Regions from separate parts of the Homo sapiens genome. Here all the other regions are linked to region 2. Evidence: promoter capture Hi-C in 16 types of primary human blood cells and fetal thymus (Javierre and others, 2016). All regions are on one chromosome and are shown on one strand. The core of a region is centred on a gene start or on the middle of the fragment in contact, and the rest is flanking DNA. Distances in the headings are between cores, read along the strand shown. Region 1 overlaps ZNF277 (zinc finger protein 277). Region 2 holds the start of TMEM168 (transmembrane protein 168). Region 3 has its middle 310 kb from the start of SMIM30.

The links. The method cuts DNA at HindIII sites, captures the fragments that hold promoters and counts their contacts. A CHiCAGO score of 5 or more calls a contact.
Region 1: a fragment that was not itself captured here is called in contact with the fragment with the promoter of TMEM168 in region 2 in 7 of 17 cell types (naive CD4 T cells, non-activated CD4 T cells, total CD8 T cells and 4 more); the score reaches 7.9 in naive CD4 T cells.
Region 3: a contact is called between a fragment that was not itself captured here and the fragment with the promoter of TMEM168 in region 2, in 1 of 17 cell types (M1 macrophages). The highest score is 5.5, in M1 macrophages.

The regions. Positions count from the first base shown.
Region 1 is chr7:112,209,803-112,212,646 of GRCh38, forward strand. The region is part of intron 1 of ZNF277 (zinc finger protein 277); the gene reads left to right. Among named protein-coding and RNA genes, the nearest start is that of ZNF277, 4.5 kb to the left of the region's middle. The HindIII fragment of the contact is 3,228 bases long and covers 1-2,844 here.
Region 2 is chr7:112,788,835-112,791,851 of GRCh38, forward strand. TMEM168 (transmembrane protein 168) reads right to left here and starts at 1,559. Exons shown (of 5, transcript NM_022484.6): 1 at 1,326-1,559. RefSeq lists an enhancer at 1,818-1,947. The HindIII fragment of the contact is 5,754 bases long and covers 1-2,680 here.
Region 3 is chr7:113,423,408-113,426,539 of GRCh38, forward strand. No RefSeq gene overlaps it. Among named protein-coding and RNA genes, the nearest start is that of SMIM30, 310 kb to the left of the region's middle. The HindIII fragment of the contact is 843 bases long and covers 1,168-2,010 here.

The DNA.
Region 1 (2,844 bases), core at 19-2,518, 580 kb before region 2:
TGTAAAAATCATACACCTTTTTGGATGAGTTCATGTCCTTTGTAGGGACATGGATGAAGCTGAAAACCATCATTGTGAGCAAACTATCGCAAGGACAGAAAACCAAACACCACATGTTCTCACTTATAGGTGGAAATTGAACAATGAGAACACTTGGACACAGGGCAGGGAACATCACATACCCGGGCCTGTCGTGGGGTTGGGGGATGGGGAAGGGATAGCATTAGGAGAAATACCTAATGTAAATGACGAGTTAATGGGTGCAGCAAACCAATATGGCACATGTATACATATGCAACAAACCTCCAAGTTGTGCACATGTACCCTGGAACTTAAAGTATAATAAAAATAAAATTTTTAAAAAACATACACCTTTTTGACTTCTTGAAAACTGCTTCTTTTAAGAGATTTTCTTCTTGCTCTGATTAAAATGTTAGTCTGTGTGTTTAATACCCTGGGACAGTGAGGCCTAGGAAGACTTTTTATAGAAATCCTTGCAATTCCTCAAAATCTCTGCTAGAGTGAGTCAGTGGGTGGGGTGCAGGCAGGTGCAACACTCACTGAGACCACTGTGTTGCCAGACTTCTGTGGCTCCATCCTTCTCCAAGAAAGTCCCCACATTGAGGTCAAGGATTTTTTTGCTTTTTTTGTTTTTGTTTTTTGTTTTTTTTTTTTGTTTTTTTTTTTGAGACAGAGTCCTGCTCTGTAACCCAAGCTGGAGTGGAGTGGCACGATCTCAGCTCACTGCAACCTCCGCCTCCCGGGTTCAAGTGATTCTCCTGCCACAGCCTCCCGAGTAGCTGGGATTACAGGCGTGTGCCACCATGCCCAGCTAATTTTTATATTTTTAGTAGAGACAGAGTTTCGCCATCTAGGCCAGGCTGGTCTCAAACTCCTGACCACAGGTGATCCACCCTCCTCGGCCTCCCAAAGTGCTGGGATTACAGGCGTGAGCTACTGCACCTGGCACACTAGGTCAAGGGTTAAAGGACACTGCTTTACATACATCTGAACAGTAACCAGAATTTCAATTTGTCTCCTAAAATTAAGAACAGATAATAAATAGATTCAGCATCCCTCACGTGGTGTCATTGGCATTTGTTCTTTTGCTGTTTTTAAAAATCAGCAAGGTAGCACAATTCAGTAATAATACATTTAGGAGGCTTTTGTGACTGAGGCTATTTCTTCTGAGTATTAATCTGTATCTCCATATTGTAATATTCTGTCAAAGTCAACTTTTTTCCCTCCGAATGGGTGTTTAGTAGTTGATGATTTTGCTAATGCTTGGATTCTGGACCTTATTATCTGATGATTTTGGTAATGTTTATCTTCCAGAGAACTTACTATCTCATGTGTGATGTCTCTGGAAGAAAGAGGGAAGGGTAGCAGGTGATGTAAACTCCTCATTCTTGTATTTCCTATTTCAATAAATGGCATCAAGTCTAAGCTAGAAACCTAGGAAGCATCCTTGATTCCTAACTCGCCCTCAGGTACTGAATTTGATCAGTTAGCAAGCCTTATTTTTCTGCGCCTGTAGTATATTTTGAACCTGTTCCCTCTATTCATAGCTACAGCCACTGTGCTAATTCCATTACTAACCCTCACCATTACTGCTGAATTACCTACCTGCATCTCCCATGCCCCAGAAAGTGCTCTTGAGAACCAGTTGTATGTGTGTTTGTCAGCCTGATTCTGTTCTTGGCACATTGTTAATGTTTAATAAGTGTTTGACCAGAATGGAATTCTAGCCTGAACGATTGCAAAACCTTCCTGTTGATCTCACTGACTCTTGACTTTACCTCCTTTAATCCACATTGTAAAACAAATATATTCATGGATCTCCACTTGAAATCTTCAGTGTAATTCTGCTACATGTATAATTAGGTCCAAACTCTCTGTGTGGCATTTAAGATTCTAATCTACTTGTCTAGCCTCATCTTCAGTCACCCTGCTTCCTTTCCCATATCTCCATTATCCACTTACCATGTCACACTGTAGTTATTTTTTGGCAACTTTGTCTACCCCAGTGGACAGTGAACTTCTTGAGGTCAAGAGTTGCCTTATTTCACTTTTGTACATCCAGTGTTTATCAAAGCTGCATACAGTAAACATTGTATAACAGTCTAATGTTAGAATATGCTTGAAATTTATTCAAGGCATTTAGAGTGGCTACTATTTTGAGCAGAGGAACTGAAGTAGAATAAAAAACTGAATAGATGTTTTATGCTTGTGAAAGGTATGCATACCAACTAAAATGCAAAATATCAGGAGGATGATATTCTGTCAAGGTGATCATAGTTAGCATTTAAGGATAGTATTTCAGTTTTTTAAAATAAAGTTTTAATGTTGTTTAAATAATAATTACATTTTTTAAAAGAATACTTTAGATCTGGCCTTTATAACTTTAAGCCTGTAACTGAATGACCTACCACATGGACCTTGAATTCTGTCTTTCATCATCTATATGGCTGTTACCAATTTTCTACAGGCTGTCATTCTATTTCTATAAACCATTAAGTCCAGTCTCATATATTTGACATGGCAATGGAAAGAGGACTAGACCTTATTTTGACAAAACGGTATTTAAATTCCAATTCTGACATTTAAAAGCTGTGTAACATAGGTTTATTATATGTGCTGCCACATTTATGAAAATATCCGTATAATACCTGTCTTGCAGTTATTGTGATTATTTCATATTTATATATTTATGAAAGCCTAGCATATTTCCTGTTATAAAGTCAGACCTCAGTAAGTATTAGTTGCTTTCATTATAAAGATAGGCCCAATTATAAAGATCTGCCTGCTCTATCAAGAACTGCCTGCTCTTTGATACTGTATTCA
Region 2 (3,017 bases), core at 309-2,808:
CCATCCCAATTTTGGCCACCATCATGTTGAACATTTCCCTGTATCCACTCTTGCCCTCTCTAAGAAGTGTACTTTTTAAAACCAAAATTTAGCACTCCACTATGTAAAATGCTCCAATGGCGTCCCATCACCCTTAGCAATAAAGTCAAAACTCCTTACAGTGCCTTATAAGGCACTCCGTGTTGGGCCTGAATAACTCTCCTGCCTTATCTGTTACCAGTTTTCCTCTCACACTTTATTTTCCAACCTTACTGACCTTTCAATTACAAACTGCACAAATGCTATTCCCTTGCCAGGTACACTCCTTTTCCTCCTCCTGGCCCCACCCCAGTGCTCACACCTGGCTTATTCCAACTCTTCAGGTCTCAGATAAATCATTTTCTTAAGAGATTATCCCTGCCCCCTCCCCATTACATGACCCCCATACTTTCTCTGTTACATACCATCACTTATTTCATGTCTGCATTTCCCACTAGATCAAAAGGTCTCTGAGGGTTTGTCTTCAATACTGTACACCCAGTGACTAGCAAAAATCCGGCATCAAGAAGGTATTCAATAAATACTTGTTGAAAAATAAAGACTAATAAAGAAATAACTACATTTAACAACAATAGTCACCATTGGACACTTACTAATGCCTAAAGAGAATACAGAACTTAGCTATATCCCACAACTAATAACTAGTAGAACTAAGGGAGAGTCCATGAATGTTTGGTTTCTATTTCAGCTTTCCACCAGTCTTTACTTAATTCACCCAAATTCTTCCAAACCAATTCTCTCTCCATGTCCTACCTCTAGGGAATGGCTTGAGGCATACCGTATCACTTGCATTATCTTTCACTCAGAAACTCTGTCCCATCTAGAAGTGTCAAGGCTGAAAGAACTACACTGAAAAAACAGGGAATTTCAGTGCTTCAGTTCTGAATTACTGATAACTCTTTGAGCCATCTCATACGAGGAAAATGTCATCTAGAATATCAAACTCCTCAGCACTAGAGCAGCAACAGCAATTTCTCTCCCTTTCGGCCTCCTTCTAGCGAGATGTGGGAGGTCCGACAAGGAGCTTGGCTGTTCTCCACCATCCTCTGCCTCGGAGAACGCGACCACAACGTGGCGCCCAGTTGAGGGGGAACCCTTGCGAAATACGGAGAGGCGCTCCCACACCCTCCAATCTCCAACCACCACTGTCAACTCCTCCAGAGGCAGGTATCCTACCCCGGCCCTGGGAGGCCGACTGGGCGGAGCTTGGGGTCCGGACCACGCGGAGCCCTGGCAGTGTCTATGCCTAGATCTCGCCGCCCTGCCGTCCACCCATTTCTCCCTACCTGACTCGGCCGTCGCCACCAACGCGCTCTCCCAACCCTCGGAGTCAGTTCCAAAACCAAACCAAAAAGGAGGAGAGCAGACAAGGCTTCAGCCTGCGACTGAGAACAGGGAGGCGGCACGCCTTGGGGAACGAGGGCCCGAGGCCATACGCGCTAATACAGGCCAGTGTCGGCGTAAACTTTCTCCGTTACCGGCCCGGCCGCGACCGCCATGTTTCCGCCGCCGAAATCCGCGACGGTACGGAACGCCGCCGGGGTCAAACTGCGCGGCGCGCCTCCTTCCCGAGGCCCGGCCCCCTCCCCGCCCAAACCCGCGCGCCGCCACACACTCAGGTGAGCAAGGCGCTGCGCGAGTGTCAACTGCCCCACCTAAGGCGCCTGCCTTCCTCAAGCCAAAGTCGACTCCTGGGACCTGGAATCAGCAGCTGAGAACAGACAGCGGGAAGACCACCAAAGATCAGGCTGACAGTGCCCATCAAGCATCTAGGCCACCGCCTCGGGCTGGACCGAACGGGGACAGGGTGGACAGGACTGCCACGCGTGGGCTGTAAATACTGCGGGAGGCGTTGCTGCTCATTAATATATATGGCATAATATATGGCTTTGTAACCAGCTAAGGCCCAAGCTCCTTAGGCCCTCCCTCAGACCTTTCAGTTCCTCAAATGCAGGGACATGTCGGGTTTTGCTCAACATTAAATCACCTTAGCATAGTGCCTGACACATAGTTGGCACTTAAATATTTGTAAAATAATAATATGCAATAGGCTCTCCACGATCCGTAGTTCTCTCCTCCCACTTGTTTTGCATGTATTATCTATATATTTTTCCTATTTTCCATAATAGAGTGTGAATTTCCTAATTTTCATAATAGATGTTGGGGGTTGGTGTGGCCAGCACATCTATAGGAATGAACAACTCTCAGATTGAGATTCTGCATATGTGGATGAAAATTTTGAGTTAGATTCTCTCTAGACTCCTGATTTTAAAAGCAATCACAACTCAACTTCCCAAATCTGTAACTAGCTCTCTGGGGAACACGAGTGCCACATTTCCAACTACCTGCTAGATGTTTCTACTCAAATATATTGTCATCACTTCCAACTCAACTTGCCTTTAATGGACATTTATATACATTTATTATGCCCCCCATTTGAATCCCCTTCCGTATTTGGAGAATTCCCCACCTGAGTTAAGAGTCTAATGGCTGCCGCTGAAATGCTGAACACTTGTTTAACTAATCATGTGTACCCGCTGGAAGCCATGAGTCAAAAAAGGCACAGAAAGCTACACTCCCAGGTCACCTGTAGGAGTATAGCAAGTGTAGAGATCGAGAACCCATCCCTAACAGCAAGGTAAGCTTCCGAGGCAGTAGTGAGAGTGCTGGCATCCACCATTAACATGTCAGAGATGCAAGATGCCTGTGCTTGGTGAGGGTCACAACCCCAGAGCCCTTTCCCAATCTGTTCTGTAGCCTGTTAACAGTCTCTGTGTACATTTCTGGGTAGCCTGTGACAGACTCTGTACTACATAGCTGTGAGGCAGGACAATAGGGTCTGGAGGCAAGGAACTTACGGCTGATTCATGCTGACTTTCTAGAACTAAATCAAAAGGAAAGCCCCAACTTTCCACAGCTAAGTAACAAAGGGACCCGGCCCCCTCCCCCACCACCGCCCTTTTCTGCGTGGCAGACGG
Region 3 (3,132 bases), core at 339-2,838, 630 kb after region 2:
CAAAAGGATAATATACATATATACATAAGCTGATGTTGGACCATACATTTGGCTAAGTTTTCTAGCAGTGAACATTAAGCAGAGAAAGAAAATCACTGTAAGATTTATAATGTGCCCTTGATAAAACTAAGCCAGTAGCTTCAGATAAAAATGCTTACTTTGTCCTGGCATTAGAGGAAAATCTTCTCTGTGTTCTTATAAATATGATTCTATACAACATTGGGAATAAAATCTTCCCTTATCTTTATCATTACAATGATCCTAGAAATTCTACTGATTAAAGTTGACAAAATTGACAAATGTCAATGAGTGACATTAATATAATAGGTCATTTGGTCACTAGGTAATTTCAAGTTTTCACTTGTAAATGAGGGTGTATTTACATAGGTAGTTCCTTAGTCCTCAGTGTGAAACATTGCTGTTCACACCAAAATACAGTAGAAGGAATTATACAAAGTGCAAATATAATACTGTTCACTCGTGATATCCTCAATACGCTTAGCCTGAGTCAAATAATCTAGTAACTTTAACTTATTCCGGGTCTTGGTTTTGGCCTTAAGGAGTGAGAGGTCACAGACTTTTTTAAGGATCTGCTGATCACTAAGCTTCTTCTTCTCAGCAGATAATATACAATTGGTCCTCATTATTCACAGATTCTGAATTTGTGAATTCACCTACGCACTAAAGTGTACTTGTAACCTCAAAGACCATAGGTCCTTTCAAAGTCATTATCAGATGTATGCATGTGCAAAACATCAAAAACTTTGAATTTCCTGATGTGCACATTCCCAGCTGATGTGGAAACGGGTGACACTTTGCTTTTTTGTTTCCGATCTCAAACTGTAAACGAGTATCCTTTAGTGCCACATTTTTTTTCACATTTTTTGCATTTTGTTAATGATTTCTCTGTTTAAAATGGCTCCCAAGCATGGTGCTGAAGTGCTGTTTAATGTTCCTAAGCACGAGAAGGCTGGGATGTGCCTTATGCAGAAAATGTATGTTAGATACGCTTTATTCAGGAATGATTTATAGTGATGTTGGCCATGAGTTCACTGGTAATAAATTAACAATAAATATTAAATATGATGTCTTTAAACAGAAACACACATAAAACAAGGTTATGTATTAATCAGTTGATAAGAAATGTTGTTCCCAGATGCTCGCAAAAGCTTATCTCTGTATTTTTCCAAGGAAAATAACACTAAATTTCCTCTAGGAGCAATGACTCAGTATTTGCTAATTCTGTGTTCATGGTCACTTTATAAAGCACAACTACTGCAAATATCAAGAACTGAACTGTATACACATAGAAGTCTCCTTCAAATTCAAGGATTTTATGAAGTCATGAGGCCTATTCAAGTATGTTAGATAAAAGCCCTTGATGAAAAATGAATATACTAAATATATTAAGAGCTATCTTACATAAGTAATGGTTTCTCTCAATGAGCTTTTTATAATGGTTATGGGCTCTAAAGTCAAACTGCCAGGGTTCAAACCTTGCCTCTATGACTTTCTAGCGGGCGAGCCTGGGCAGGTTTCTTAATCCAAACTTCCTCATCTGCAAAATAGGGAAATTAAGGAAAGGGATTAGAACATCAAAGAGTACATATGACATTACTAATATTTTTGATTGATTGATTATTAACCAGATACATACAAGAATAATTAGAATTTCTGTTACTTATCAGGGAGGGGGTTAGAGAACAGTGGGCAGCAGATACAAGACAAACAAATACTATTTTTAGACCTCAATGAGTATAAGGTTTCTCAATTAAACTGTCTACTATTCAGCTCCTCATGGTTCTGTTCACAAATGAGTTTGGTGAGAACTAATAACTGAAAGACTAGCCCACAGGGAAGTCAACTTTTTATTCCCAAACTTTGGGCTAAAAATAATAAGACAAAATAGTTGGGCTTTAAAATGAAGGGAAAGAGATTAGCAATTAATGAGATTAAAATATTAAAATGAAAGTTAAAAGACTAAGATAAAAGGCATAAGTAAAGGCAAGAAGCTTAGAGATTATAAGAGGAAAAAAGAAAAGCAAAAGGAAAATGCACTAAAAGCAAATAAGGGATGTGCCCAAAACAAAGCTCAAGGTATGTCCAGTTTCCACAAGGGTTGGGTCCCTTGTAACAGTGGGGCCAACTACAACTCTGATAAACAATTCTTTAGGGATCTACTGTAACAAAGCTTAGGACCACTCAGTTCAAACAACTGGAGGGATTTAGGACAAGCAGCAATTTGTCTAAGCTAAGTAGAACATACTGATAAAATAAATATGATAGTAAAATAATTCTGACGTACTAAAAAACTTCAAGTTTAAGGACCTCTAGCTTTGTTTTTTAACATTGTCTTGGTTATTTTTGGCCCCTTATTCTTTAAAATAAAGTGCAAAAAATTAATTCATCAATTTCCACTGAGAGTGTTTGGAATTTAATCTATTGATTGAATTTGATCTATAGATCAGCTTGATGGTAATTGGTATCTTTACAGAAGTCTTTAAATACGTGAACATAGTATATGTCTCCATTTATTTAGGACTTTAAATTTCCTCCATCATGTTTTGCAGTTTTCGTTATAGAGATCTTACAACTCTTTTTTGTTAGATTTGTTTTTAGGTATTTGATGTTTATGCATACTCTTATAAATAGTATTGCTTTAAAATTTCGTTTTATGTTTGTTTATGGCTGGTACAGCATGCCCCGCATAAAGACAGTTTAATCAACAATAGACCACATTATAAGGCAGTAGTTCCATAAGCGTACGATGGCGGTGGCTCATACCTATAATCCCAGTGCTTTGGAAGGCCAAGGTGGGAGGATTCCTTGAGGCCAGGAGTTTGAAACCAGCCTGGACAATATAGCGAGACCCTGTCTCTGCATAATAATAATAAAGATTATAATAAAGCTGAAAAAATCCTATTGTCTAGTAATGTCACAGCAGTCATAACACCATAGTGCAATGCATTACTAATATATTTGTGGTGATACTGATTTAAACAAACCTACTATGCTGCCAGCCATATAAAAGTATTATGTACAGTATATAATACTGATGATGATAATAAACAACTATGTTACTGGTTTATATGTTTATTATATTATAGTTGTTATTGTTATTTTAGAATGTAC